Linked DNA regions of Homo sapiens: region 2 is linked to region 1. The links are contacts of gene promoters, found by promoter capture Hi-C in human tissues and cell types (Jung and others, 2019). All regions are on one chromosome and are shown on one strand. The core of a region is centred on a gene start or on the middle of the fragment in contact, and the rest is flanking DNA. Distances in the headings are between cores, read along the strand shown. Region 1 holds the start of PRR22 (proline rich 22). Region 2 holds the start of MIR6885 (microRNA 6885).

What was found. Contacts are between HindIII fragments. The study calls those that stand out against the background at their distance.
Region 2: a fragment that was not itself captured here is called in contact with the fragment with the promoter of PRR22 in region 1 in 1 of the 25 tissues and cell types used here (dorsolateral prefrontal cortex).

What each region holds. Positions count from the first base shown.
Region 1 is chr19:5,781,812-5,787,335 of GRCh38, reverse strand. It overlaps PRR22 (proline rich 22), which reads left to right and starts at 2,590. Exons shown (of 3, transcript NM_001134316.2): 1 at 2,590-2,805; 2 at 2,897-2,959; 3 at 3,283-4,376. The coding sequence starts at 2,676. The coding sequence ends at 4,358. DUS3L (dihydrouridine synthase 3 like) reads left to right here. Exons shown (of 13, transcript NM_020175.3): 7 at 1-40; 8 at 165-275; 9 at 491-587; 10 at 794-869; 11 at 1,545-1,733; 12 at 1,825-1,953; 13 at 2,061-2,196. The coding sequence ends at 2,133. The HindIII fragment of the contact is 36,623 bases long and covers 1-5,524 here.
Region 2 is chr19:6,384,225-6,389,830 of GRCh38, reverse strand. GTF2F1 (general transcription factor IIF subunit 1) reads left to right here. Exons shown (of 13, transcript NM_002096.3): 4 at 194-387; 5 at 2,272-2,442. MIR6885 (microRNA 6885) reads left to right here and starts at 128; the gene lies at 128-193. RefSeq lists an enhancer at 2,299-2,799. The HindIII fragment of the contact is 4,380 bases long and covers 1-3,440 here.

The DNA.
Region 1 (5,524 bases), core at 1,341-3,840:
CTCCACCAAGTTCCAGCAGATCGTCCGTGGCATGAACCAGGTACGGCCAGCCACATCCTCGCACTGGCTCCCAAACAACTCCCCCGGGCCCTGTCTCCCACCACCTCCCACCGTCTCCCACCACCTCCCACCATCTCCCACCACCTCCCACCACCGTCCTGTAGGTGCTGGATGTGCCGCTGACTGTGAAGATCCGCACAGGCGTCCAGGAGCGTGTGAACCTGGCGCACCGCCTGCTGCCCGAGCTGCGGGACTGGGGCGTGGCACTCGTCACGGTGGGTCTTGGGACGCCTCGGGCATTGGGGCCTCGCGGTCGACCCCGCGTCCCTTCCTAATGGCTCCTCTCCTCCCATCCCTCCCTCTTCACCTCCACACCTCCCTCTGTCTCCGCCTGTGTCTCTCTCTGTCTCTCTCAGCCTGGCTCTCTTGGTCTCTTCCTCTCTGCGTCTCACTCTCTGCCTCCTACCCTGCGTGGCGGCTTCTCCCCCAGCTCCACGGCCGCTCTCGGGAGCAGCGCTACACCAAGCTAGCCGACTGGCAGTACATCGAGGAGTGCGTGCAGGCCGCCAGCCCCATGCCCCTGTTCGGTGGGTGTTCCGGGAAGCCACCTCCCTCTCCCCTACCACCCTTGGTCACTCACACCTCTGGGCTGTTCGCCTTCCCACTTGGGACCCCCTCGTACCACCCTGATGGGAGCCACTGGGTCAGCCAAAACTCCTGAAGGGCTGGTGAGCAGAACTCCAGGGTCCCACCTGCCCATGTCTCCCTGAGACCCCAGCCTCTGTCTCCTCAGGAAATGGGGACATCTTGTCATTTGAGGATGCCAACCGCGCCATGCAGACTGGTGTCACCGGGATCATGATTGCCCGGTAAGTGCCCAGGGATGTTAGAGATCCAGCTTCATGCACAGCAGCAGTGCCCTGAACCCAACACGCCGTCACCCACCCCTGTTCTGTGGTGGGCTGTTGGTCCCAAGATGGGAGGAGCAGAGAGCGATGTCAGGAGTTGCAGCTGCGTTGCGGCAGAGGGGACTGGAAATTGCTGCTGCTGTGGGATCTGATGATTGTGGGTTGAAAGTCCTGGGCTTTGGCCAGGTGTGTGGCTCACGCCTGTAATCCCAGCACTTTGGGAGGCCAAGGCACGCCGATCATTTGAGGTCGGAGGTTCAAGACTAGCCTGACCAACATGGTGAAACATCTCTATTAAAAATACAAAAATTAGCCAGGTGTAGTGGTACACGCCTGTAATCCCAACTACTAGGGAGGCTGAGGCAGGACAATTGCCTGAACCTGGGAGACGGAGGTTGAACAGTGAGCCGAGATCTTACCACTGCACCCCAGCCTGGGCGACAGAGCCAGACTCCGTCTCAGAAAAAACAAAAGAAAGTCCTGTGCTTTGAAGGTTGTGTGCATGCAGCTGGGAGGCTTACTAGGCTTGTAGGTTTTGTGGTCTGGGCTCCGGCTCAGGCCAGGCCATGGAAGCAGAGGCCACACGATCCCAGGCAGGCTGGTGGCTGGGCCCACTGATCGTCACCCGTCCCACAGTGGCGCCCTGCTCAAGCCGTGGCTCTTCACGGAGATCAAGGAGCAGCGGCACTGGGACATCTCGTCGTCCGAGCGCCTGGACATCCTGCGGGACTTCACCAACTACGGCCTGGAGCACTGGGGCTCGGACACGCAGGGCGTGGAGAAGACCCGGCGCTTTCTGCTCGAGTGGCTGTCCTTCCTGTGCCGGTGGGCACCGGGGCTGGCTGGGGTGGGCGGCGCGTGGGCCGCGGCTGGTTAGAGCTGACTCAAGCCTGTCCTGCCCGCCCACCCGCCGCAGGTACGTGCCCGTGGGGCTGCTGGAGCGGCTCCCACAGAGGATCAACGAGCGGCCGCCCTACTACCTGGGCCGCGACTACCTGGAGACGCTGATGGCCAGCCAGAAGGCAGCCGACTGGATCCGCATCAGGTGCCTGGGTGGGCTGGAGTTGGGGAGCTGCAGTCGGGGGCCCGGGGTCACGGAGGGTACTTTGCAGGTCCTGGGCCTGACCTCGCTTTCCACCTGCTCTCCCACAGCGAGATGCTCCTTGGGCCAGTGCCCCCCAGCTTCGCCTTCTTGCCGAAGCACAAGGCCAACGCGTACAAGTAGCCTCAGGCTTTCCCAGGGGCACCCTGGGGCGAGGAGAGTACAATAAATTTTATTCTTTTAAAATCCAGGCCTTTCTGTGACCCTGAAGCAGCCCCTCCTCGGCCCCCACCTTCCCCAAACCTCTTAGCTGCCTCCATGGGCCCTGCCCCAAGCTGGGTGCTGCTGGTGCCCAGAGAGGCCTTGACCCCCAAGAAGGTAGCGGGTTGAGGACCCGGGGGGCCTCAGCCTGTGTGGGTGTGGATCAGGGCAGCCTGCCTGGAGGAGGCGGCCTCAAAGCTGTTAGGGGGGTGTTGCTGGAAGAGGCAAAGGCCTGGCCCAGAATCCTCCCTCCCATGGTGATGACCATGTCTGCCAACGTCTGCCCCTGCTTGCCCCCAACACCCAGAACCCCAACCAGTGGGCGCGCTGCAGGCTGGAACCCGCTGCCCCGAGTAACCAGGCAAACAGAACCCCACCAGGTTCTCAGCCTGTTCTCCGGTTGGGCCACTTGCACTCCCACTGCCGCCCTCCTGGCCTGTCTGGACCGGGCCCCCCGCTGCCCCATGCAGCACCCCAAACCGTTCTGTGCCCCTGCAGCTCCCCAGGAAGGTTTCAGCCCGCAGAGTCTGGAGGGGGCTGAGGTGCTGGGCAACCAGCCTGCTCCCACCTGTGCCGAGCCTCCTCCCGCTATGGGTACGATCGGGTGGGTGGGAGCACCTGCTGGAGAGGGTTCAGGGGCCCACCCGCCTAAGGGCCCTACCCACCTGGGCACCTTTGTCCACAGGCTCCTTGAACCTGTATCATCCCCCAGACCCAGAGAAAGAGGTGTTTCCAGCCCCACCAGCAGGTACCGGCCTCCCCTGAGCCCTTGACGAGGCTGGGAGTGGGTTTGAGTGTGCAGGCCCATCTTGCCCCTGCCCCGTCCCTAAGTGGGAGCCTGAAGGCATGGCCTCTGCTCCCCATGCTTCACACAGGTCCCCCAGATGAGCCCCAAAGACAAGCTCTGTGTCATCCATCACCCAGCCAGGGCCCCAAAGCAATATCTATGTCGTCCCCCAAAGGGGCCCCCCAATGGCAAGGTTCTTGTGGCATCTCCCAAACAGGCCCCCAGGCTTGGGCTGGGCCCCTCAGGCAGCAGCTGCTCTCAGGGCACCCGCCTGCCGCCCACAGGTTTCCAGATGGCCCCATGCGGGTGCTTCTTCGACCCCCGCATCTATCGGATCGAGTGGACCACCCCCGACCTGGGCCAGTCAGCCCTGTATAAGCTGGCAGCAAGCAGCGGGGGGCCAGCGGGGGTCCCCTCCGCCCCAGGCAGCTACCTCCTGGAGCCTCAGCCCTACCTCAAGGCCCCGGGGCTGCCTCCATACCCCCACTACCAGCAGGCACCCGGGGGGCCCCAGTTTCTCTTGCCCTACTTCCCGCCTGAGGGCCCCGGGCCAGAGGCTCTGGGTTTTGTGGGGGACGCAGGGCCCGCCGCCTTCGTGGAGCTGCCCCTACCGCCCCTAGAGGAAGGCCCGGCCCCGCTGCCACCCCCACCCCCCAAGGAGAACAAGCCGCCCCCTGTACTCATCACGCTGCCTGCAGAGCCCACACTGCCCCCAGACGCCTACAGCCACCTCCAGGGTCACCTCGGCCACTTCCCTGGGCCCGAACCCCTGGCCTTCCCCGTCAAGGAGCTGCAGGGCAGTGGGGCCCGACCTGGGGTGCCCCTGTACCCACCGGGCCTCAGCGAGCTCAAGGTGGCCGAGGTCAAGGAGGGGGCCCTGCTGGGAGCAGGCAAGGCCAAGGCCCCCAAGACGGCCAGAGCTTTGGCACTGCCTGACAAGGTTCTGCTGGAGGACGCCATGAAGCTCTTCGACTGCCTGCCAGGCGCCTCTGAGCCTGAGGGTACCCTGTGCGAGGTCCCTGGGCCGGCCCTGCCTGACAGCAGTGGTGGGAACTCAGCCGATGACATCCGCTCGCTGTGCCTGCCCGAGGAGCTGCTGTCCTTTGACTACAGCGTGCCTGAGATCCTGGACACCGTGTCCAACGTTGACTACTTCTTCAACTTCAAGGCGCTCGACGAGGAGCAGCCGCCCCACCCGGGGCCCCCTGCCACCAACACCCCGGCCCCCATTCTGTCTGGCAAGAGAAAGGCCTCGACGGCCAAGAAGGGAAAGCCGGGAAGGAAGGCCAGGCAGCCGGCAGGCCCAGCCAGCGCCACTCCCCCGGGGCCCAGGGAGGACCTGGGAGCCACCCCGCATTAAAGCACATTTGACCTTTCAGCTCCATGTCCACGTGGGGGCCTTGGGGATGGGGAGGGGGCTGGAGATGCACGCCTGGCCCCTCACCCCATCATCCCGCGGACTGGCAAGGCAGCGCCCCCGGCCTCACAGTGAGGCCTCTTAGCAGGGGAGCCCCGGAATCACAGGACACCCTAAACTCCTTGAGTCCCAGCCCTGGAACATCAGACTCCTCTGGCAGAGGCAGGGGCCTCCTGGGGCACGAGGGAGCTGACCCCCAGACTCAACGCGTTCTAAGGGTTTTCACCCCTTTGTTTGGTGGGGGAAAGCAAGGCTGCCCAGAGCAGCAGGAACTTCCTTGGAGACACACAGCCATCAGGGCAGGGCTTGAGGAGCATCCTCCAGATCCCCACCCAGCTGCCTCCTGTCCCCAGGAAGCCACAGCCACTGCAGGCAGGGCGGGAAGGGCCACGCTCTTGTTCAGACAGACAGGTGGGTGCAGGGGCTTCACCTGATGGTCTGAGGGTGGGGGCTGGGGCAGGGATGAGACAGTGCCCACGCGTGAAGGGGTGGGGAGCACACGGCACCCAGGGGGCCTGGCATGTGCACCCAAGATGGAGACAGGAGACAGCACCTGGAGCCCAGGAGAGGGTCAGGGGCCCCACCCGGCCACACTTCGGGGTCCGGGGTGGCAGGGACAGCCTGGCTACTCGTTCCAAAATGGGATGGGCCCAGCCTCGGAAGAACGACCTCCGGGTGCTGGTTCCCGTCACTGCTTACCCACATCAGGGTCTCGAGAGCCCTCCTGGGGGTCCAGGCAGTGGCCACCTGTACCCTCCTCCCCTGAAACGCTCATGGTGGCCCTGGAGAGGCTGACCCCATTCCCCCAGGGACACATAAGGAAACAGGAGGTCGAGTGCCATCCAGCGCCTCCTGGGATGAGGACACCCCTCTGGGATGGGAACCTTCAGCCTACCCCTTCCCCAGGCTGCGGGCTGGATCTCCTGGGTCTCCGGAGTTTGGGTTTCAAGGCCTCTGCTTGGGGAGGCCCTGGGAGGCTCACCTAGAGTCCAGGAGGCTGATGGGTGTTTGGAGGCCGAGCAGAGACCATGGTCCCGGCTCTGTGTAGGGCACTGTGCCTGCTGCTCTCTGGAGCTACTCTCCCGGAAACCCTTATTCAAAAAACTCAG
Region 2 (5,606 bases), core at 1-2,500, 600 kb before region 1:
AGAGCGCAAGGCTCGCCCAAATTCCCTTTACCCAGATTTGTCAAAGGCTACCGTTCTCCTCCCTTGTTGCCAAGTGGTAAGTTGGTTTTGAGAATCTAGAGCTTGGCCTAGGGCAAGGAAGGGCGTTCCTGGAGGGGGGCACTGCGCAAGCAAAGCCAGGGACCCTGAGAGGCTTTGCTTCCTGCTCCCCTAGGCTCGGCTGGAGCGGGACTTGAGCAACAAGAAAATCTACCAAGAGGAGGAGATGCCCGAATCGGGCGCGGGCAGTGAGTTCAACCGCAAGCTTCGGGAGGAGGCTCGGAGGAAGAAGTACGGCATCGTCCTCAAGGAGTTCCGGCCCGAGGACCAGCCCTGGCTGCTCCGGGTCAACGGCAAATCAGGCAGGAAGTAAGTGGTGGGGCGGTGGCGGTGCCGGCTTAGTGACCAGTCCACATCCCCAGGCCTCAACTTACATACTTTGTGGGGTACCCTCTCTGAACCTCAGATTCCCACTGCTGCAGTGGAAGTGCTGGCACTTCCATCCCTGTAGGATTTTATTATTTATTTATTTATTTATTTATTTATGTTATCTTATTTTACTTACTTGTATTTTTTTGAGACAGAGTCTTGCTCTGTCGCCCAGGCTGGAGTGCAGTAGCACGATCTTGGCTCACTGCAACCCACACCTCCCAGGTTCAAGTTATTCTCCTGCCTGAGCCTCCTGAGTAGCTGGGATTACAGGTGCCTGCCACCACCACGCCCAGCTAATTTTTGTATTTTTAGTAGAGACAGGGTTTCACCATATTGGTCAGGCTGGTCTCGAACTTGGCGATCCTCCCGCCTCGGCCTCCCGTAGTGCTGGGATTACAGGCGTGAGCCACCGTGCCCAGCCTACTTATTTATTTTGAGACAGGGTCTCACTCCGTTGCCCAGGCTGGAGTGCAGTGGTGCGATCGTAGCTCACTGCAGGCTCCAACTCCTGGGCTCGAGATCTTCCCACCTCAGCATCCTGAGTAGCTGGGACTATAGGCACGCCCCACCATGCCTGGCTAATTTTTGTATTTTTGGTAGAGATGGGGTCTTGCTGCGTTGCTCAAGCTGGTCTTGAACTCCTGGGGTCAAGTGATCCTCCTACCTTGGTCTCCCAAAGTGCTGGGATTATAGGTATGAGCCACTGCCCAGGCCCTGGGGTTGTGTTTTTGAAGACAGTTCACTGAGTTGGTGCTTGTGCCTGGCTCTGAGGCAGCTCTGAGTGCCACAATGCAGGAAGCTTAGGTGGCCAGCCCTGGGAGCTCATGACACTTGAGATGACCTCTCAGAGGGGGCAGACTGAGGGCAGAACAGGAGGGGTCCAGGTTAGGTTGATGAAGGGTGCTCCAGGCACAGCAGTTGGGTGATAGTGACAGACACAGGCAGCTCACACAGGGCAGTGGGTGCCAGGATGTGCTGGGTCCAGCGGAGCCTTGGAAAGCTGTAGGCAGGGAAGAGGCACTCACCCAGACTGTCCGGAACTTTGGGGTAGAAAAGAATGAGGTAGAGGCCTCAAGGAGGCTGGGCAGTTGTTTAGGCTTGAGGAAATGGTGGCCCGGGCCAGGTGTCCACTTCAGATTTGGCCATGCCATGGCTGGGCGCGGTGGCTCACGCCTGTAATCCTAGCCCTTTGGGAGGCAGAGGCGGGCGGATTACGTGGGGTCAGGGGTTCGAAACTAGCCTGGCCAACATGGTGAAACCCTGTCTCTACTAAAACTACAAAAATTAGCTGGGTGTGGTGGCAGACACCTGTAATCCCAGCTACTCGGGAGGCTGAGGCATGAGAATTGCTTGAACCCGGGAGGTGGAGGTTGCAGTGAGCTGAGATGGTGCCACTGCACTCCAGCCTGGGTGCCAGAGCGAGACTCCATCTCAAAAAAAAAAATTTGGCCATGCCTTCCCGCCCCATCTTCTCACTTGGCTCCTCAGTTTCCCGGGTGTGGCCCACAGATAGCAGAGCTGGAGGCAAATGTAGACAGTTTGACTGCAGGGTTGGGCTCTCCTGAGATAATCTCACACAGTCTTTCCAGAAATGATCCCGATGTGCACACGCCCAGCACTTTGCAGGGTAGGTGCGCCGGCCCTGTTCCCCAGATGTGGAAATTGACGAGGCCCAGGTGGTTGAAGGGCCTGCCCAGGCCTCATGGGCATTTCTTGGTCTTCCTCCTATGGCAAGTGCCATAAAGGAGGCAGGCCCCGGGGGGACACGGGGGGGCTGGGGCTGGTCCCTATGGGCCAGGCCATGACCGTGGCTCCCTGCAGGTTCAAGGGCATCAAGAAGGGAGGCGTAACAGAGAACACGTCCTACTACATCTTCACCCAGTGCCCCGACGGGGCCTTCGAGGCCTTCCCCGTGCACAACTGGTACAATTTCACACCGCTGGCCCGGCATCGCACGCTCACTGCCGAGGAGGCCGAGGAGGAGTGGGAGAGGTGAGTGGGCTGGGTGGTGGCTGGGGACAGAAGTGAGGGAAATGGGGTGCCTTGCCATGGATATATCACCAGGCCCTGTGCTGGGAGCTGGGGACTCAGGGGTAACCAGGGCAGACCCCACTCGGCCGTCTCAGAGCTGTCAGTTCAGGAGGAAACAGATAGGAGGCCTTAGGGCCACAATGGGGCACCCCAGAGGGTGCTGCCAGAGCCAGAGTCTGTGACCCGGAGCTCAAATTGGCAGAGCAGGGTGGGGTCTAACTGCCCCCTTGGCTTTCCGCAGGCTGCAGGTCACACAGCCTGATCCACTGCAGGGCAGCAGCTCCAGGCAGGGCACCCGAGGAGGGTTTCTCTAGCAGTGACATCGGCCTCAGAGGTGGGGCGGGTGCAGTTAAGGGCTGTGGAGGGACACAGTGCATGAGGCCAGTGCAGAGTGACTGTGGGCAGGGGGACGAGGCTGGGGGCCCAGAGCACTTGGTCTTGGATGTATGGCTTTGGATGAGACCGTAGGGCCACCACCACCCTAGGGTGCTTGCAGATGGTGGGGAGGGCACTCTGGACGCATCTACAAATGGCATTTGCACAGGTCACAGATGAGCAGATGCTCAAAGAGTCGATGGCTCCCAAAGGTTAAAAAAACACCTTTTTCGGCTGGGTGTGGTGGCTCACGCCTGTAATCCCAGCACATTGGGAGGCCAAGGCAGGCGGATCACGAGGTCAGGAGATCGAGACCATCCTGGCTAACACGGTGAAACCCCGTCTCTACTAAAAATACAAAAAATTAGCCGGGCATGGTGGCGGGCGCCTGTAGTCCCAGTACTCGGGAGGCTGAGGCAGGAGAATGGCGTGAACTGGGAGGCGGAGCTTGCAGTGATCCTAGATGTTGCCAGTGCACTCCAGCCTGGGCGACAGAGCGAGACTCCGTCTCAAAACAAAACAAATAAAACACCTTTTTCCCTCTTTGGTGTTTTTTTGTTTGTTTGTTTGTTTGTGTGTTTTTTTTTGAACTGAGTTTCGCTCTTGTTGCCCAGGCTGGACTGCAGTGGCGCAATCTCAGCTCACTGCAACCTCCGACTCCTAGGTTCAAGCAATTCTCCTGCCTCAGCCTCCCAAGTAGAGAAATGGGATTACAGGCATGCACCACCACGCCTGGCTAACTTTGTATTTTTTGTAGAGACAGGGTTTCACCATGTTGGCCAGGTGGTCTCAAACTCCTAACCTCAGGTGATCTGCCCCCCTCAGCCTCCCTAAGTGTGGGGATTACATCCGTGAGCCACCACGCCCGGCCTGTTTTAGTTTTGTTGTTTTGTTTTTTTGAGACCGAATCTCGCTCTGTCACCCAGGCTGGAGTGCAGTGGCGCGATCTCAGCTCACTGCAAGCTCCGCCTCCCGGGTTCATGCCATTCTCTGGCCTCAGCCTCCTGGGTAGCTGGGACTACAGGCGCCTGCCACCATGCCCGGCTAATTTTTTTCTATTTTTTTGGTACAGATGGGGTTTCACCGTGGTCTCGATCTCCTGACCTCGTGATCTGCCTGCCTCGGCCTCCCAAAGTGCTGGGATTACAGGCGTGAGCCACCATGCCCAGCCCCTGCTTTAGTTTTTAATCATTTTCTTTGGTTTTAAAATTTCTGAAGAGTCATAGGTTGGCTCAGCTCCAAAAGCAACCCCGGTAAATGGCACGAAGTCAGAGCGTCCTCCCCACCAGGTCATGAGCCTCCGAGCCTGTGGGGCAGTTTCTGTACCCCTGCTCCCCTGGAACAACAGCCCCCAGGTCTGCCTGCCTGCTCCACTTTGGTTGAGTTCCTGGGGCTCCACTGTAAAATCAGTCGATCAATCATTGCTGGGGGGGCAGGTTCGCTTTTGCTGTATTTTCCTTAGAATCTGCTTTGTAAGTTTTAGGGAGAAGAATTTGGCATTTTATAGAATTGTGTAAAACCTGGATGTTAACCAAAGGAGAAATGCCATCTCTTTTTTTTTTTTTTTTTTTTTTTTTTTGAGACAGTCTCACTGTCACCCAGGCTGGAGTGCAGTGGTACCATCTCAGCTCACTGGCTCATTGCAACCTCGACCTCCTGGGTTTAAGCGATTCTGCCTCAGCCTTGCGAGTAGCTGGGACTACACACGTGCACCTCCCCACCTGGCTAATTTTTGTACTTTTAGTAGAGAAGGGGTTTCAGCATATTGCCCAGGCTGGTCTCCAACTCCTGGCCTCAAGTGATCTGCCCGCTTTGGCATCCCAATATGCTGGGATTACAGGTGTGAGCCATGGTGCCCGGCCAGAATGCCATCTCTTGATCAGATGTTAAATCTACTTAGCTAAGAACTGTTCAGGCTGGGCACGTGGAGAGCGGATCGCAAGGTCAAGAGTTCGAGACCAGCCTGGCCAAGAGACCAGCCTGGCCAATTTGGTGAAATGCCATCTCTACTAAAAATACAGAAATTAGCCAGGCATGGTGGCGGGCACCTGTAATCCCAGCTACTCGGGAGGCTGAGGCAGGAGAATTGCTTGAACCCGGGAGGTGGAGGTTGTGGTGAGCCGAGATCACACCATTGCACTCCAGTCTCGGTGACAGATCAAGACTCCAACTCAAAAGAAAAGAAAAGAAAAGAAAAGAACAAATGGTGATGGTGTCTCGCCATGTTGCTCAGGCTGGTCTCAAACTCCTGGGTTCAAGCGAGCCTCCAGCCTCGGCCTCCCCTCCCAAAGTGCTGGGATGACAGGCTTGAGCCACTGCACCAAACTGTCACTGTTTTTTGGTGCATGGCTCAGTGTGGTAAAGCCACTCACAGTGTTAAGCAGCAGTTTCATTATCTTTCACACCAGCCTGGGCCTTGCCCATGTTAGATGCATTCCTATTAAATGCAGTCCTTTTTTTTTTTTTGGAGACAGATTCTTACTCTGTCACCGAGGCTGGAGTGCTGTGGGGCAATCTTAGCTTACTGCAACCTCTGCCTCCTGGGTTCAATTGATTCTCCTCCCTCAGCCTCCTGAGTAGTCAGGACTACAGGCACATGCCACCACGCCCGGCTAATTTTTTAATTTTTTGTAGGGATGAGGTTTCACCATGTTGTTCAGGCTGTTCTCAAACTCCTGACCTCAGGTGATCCACTTGCCTCGGCCTCCCAAAGTGCTGGGATTACAGGCGTGAGCCACCGCGCCCAACCT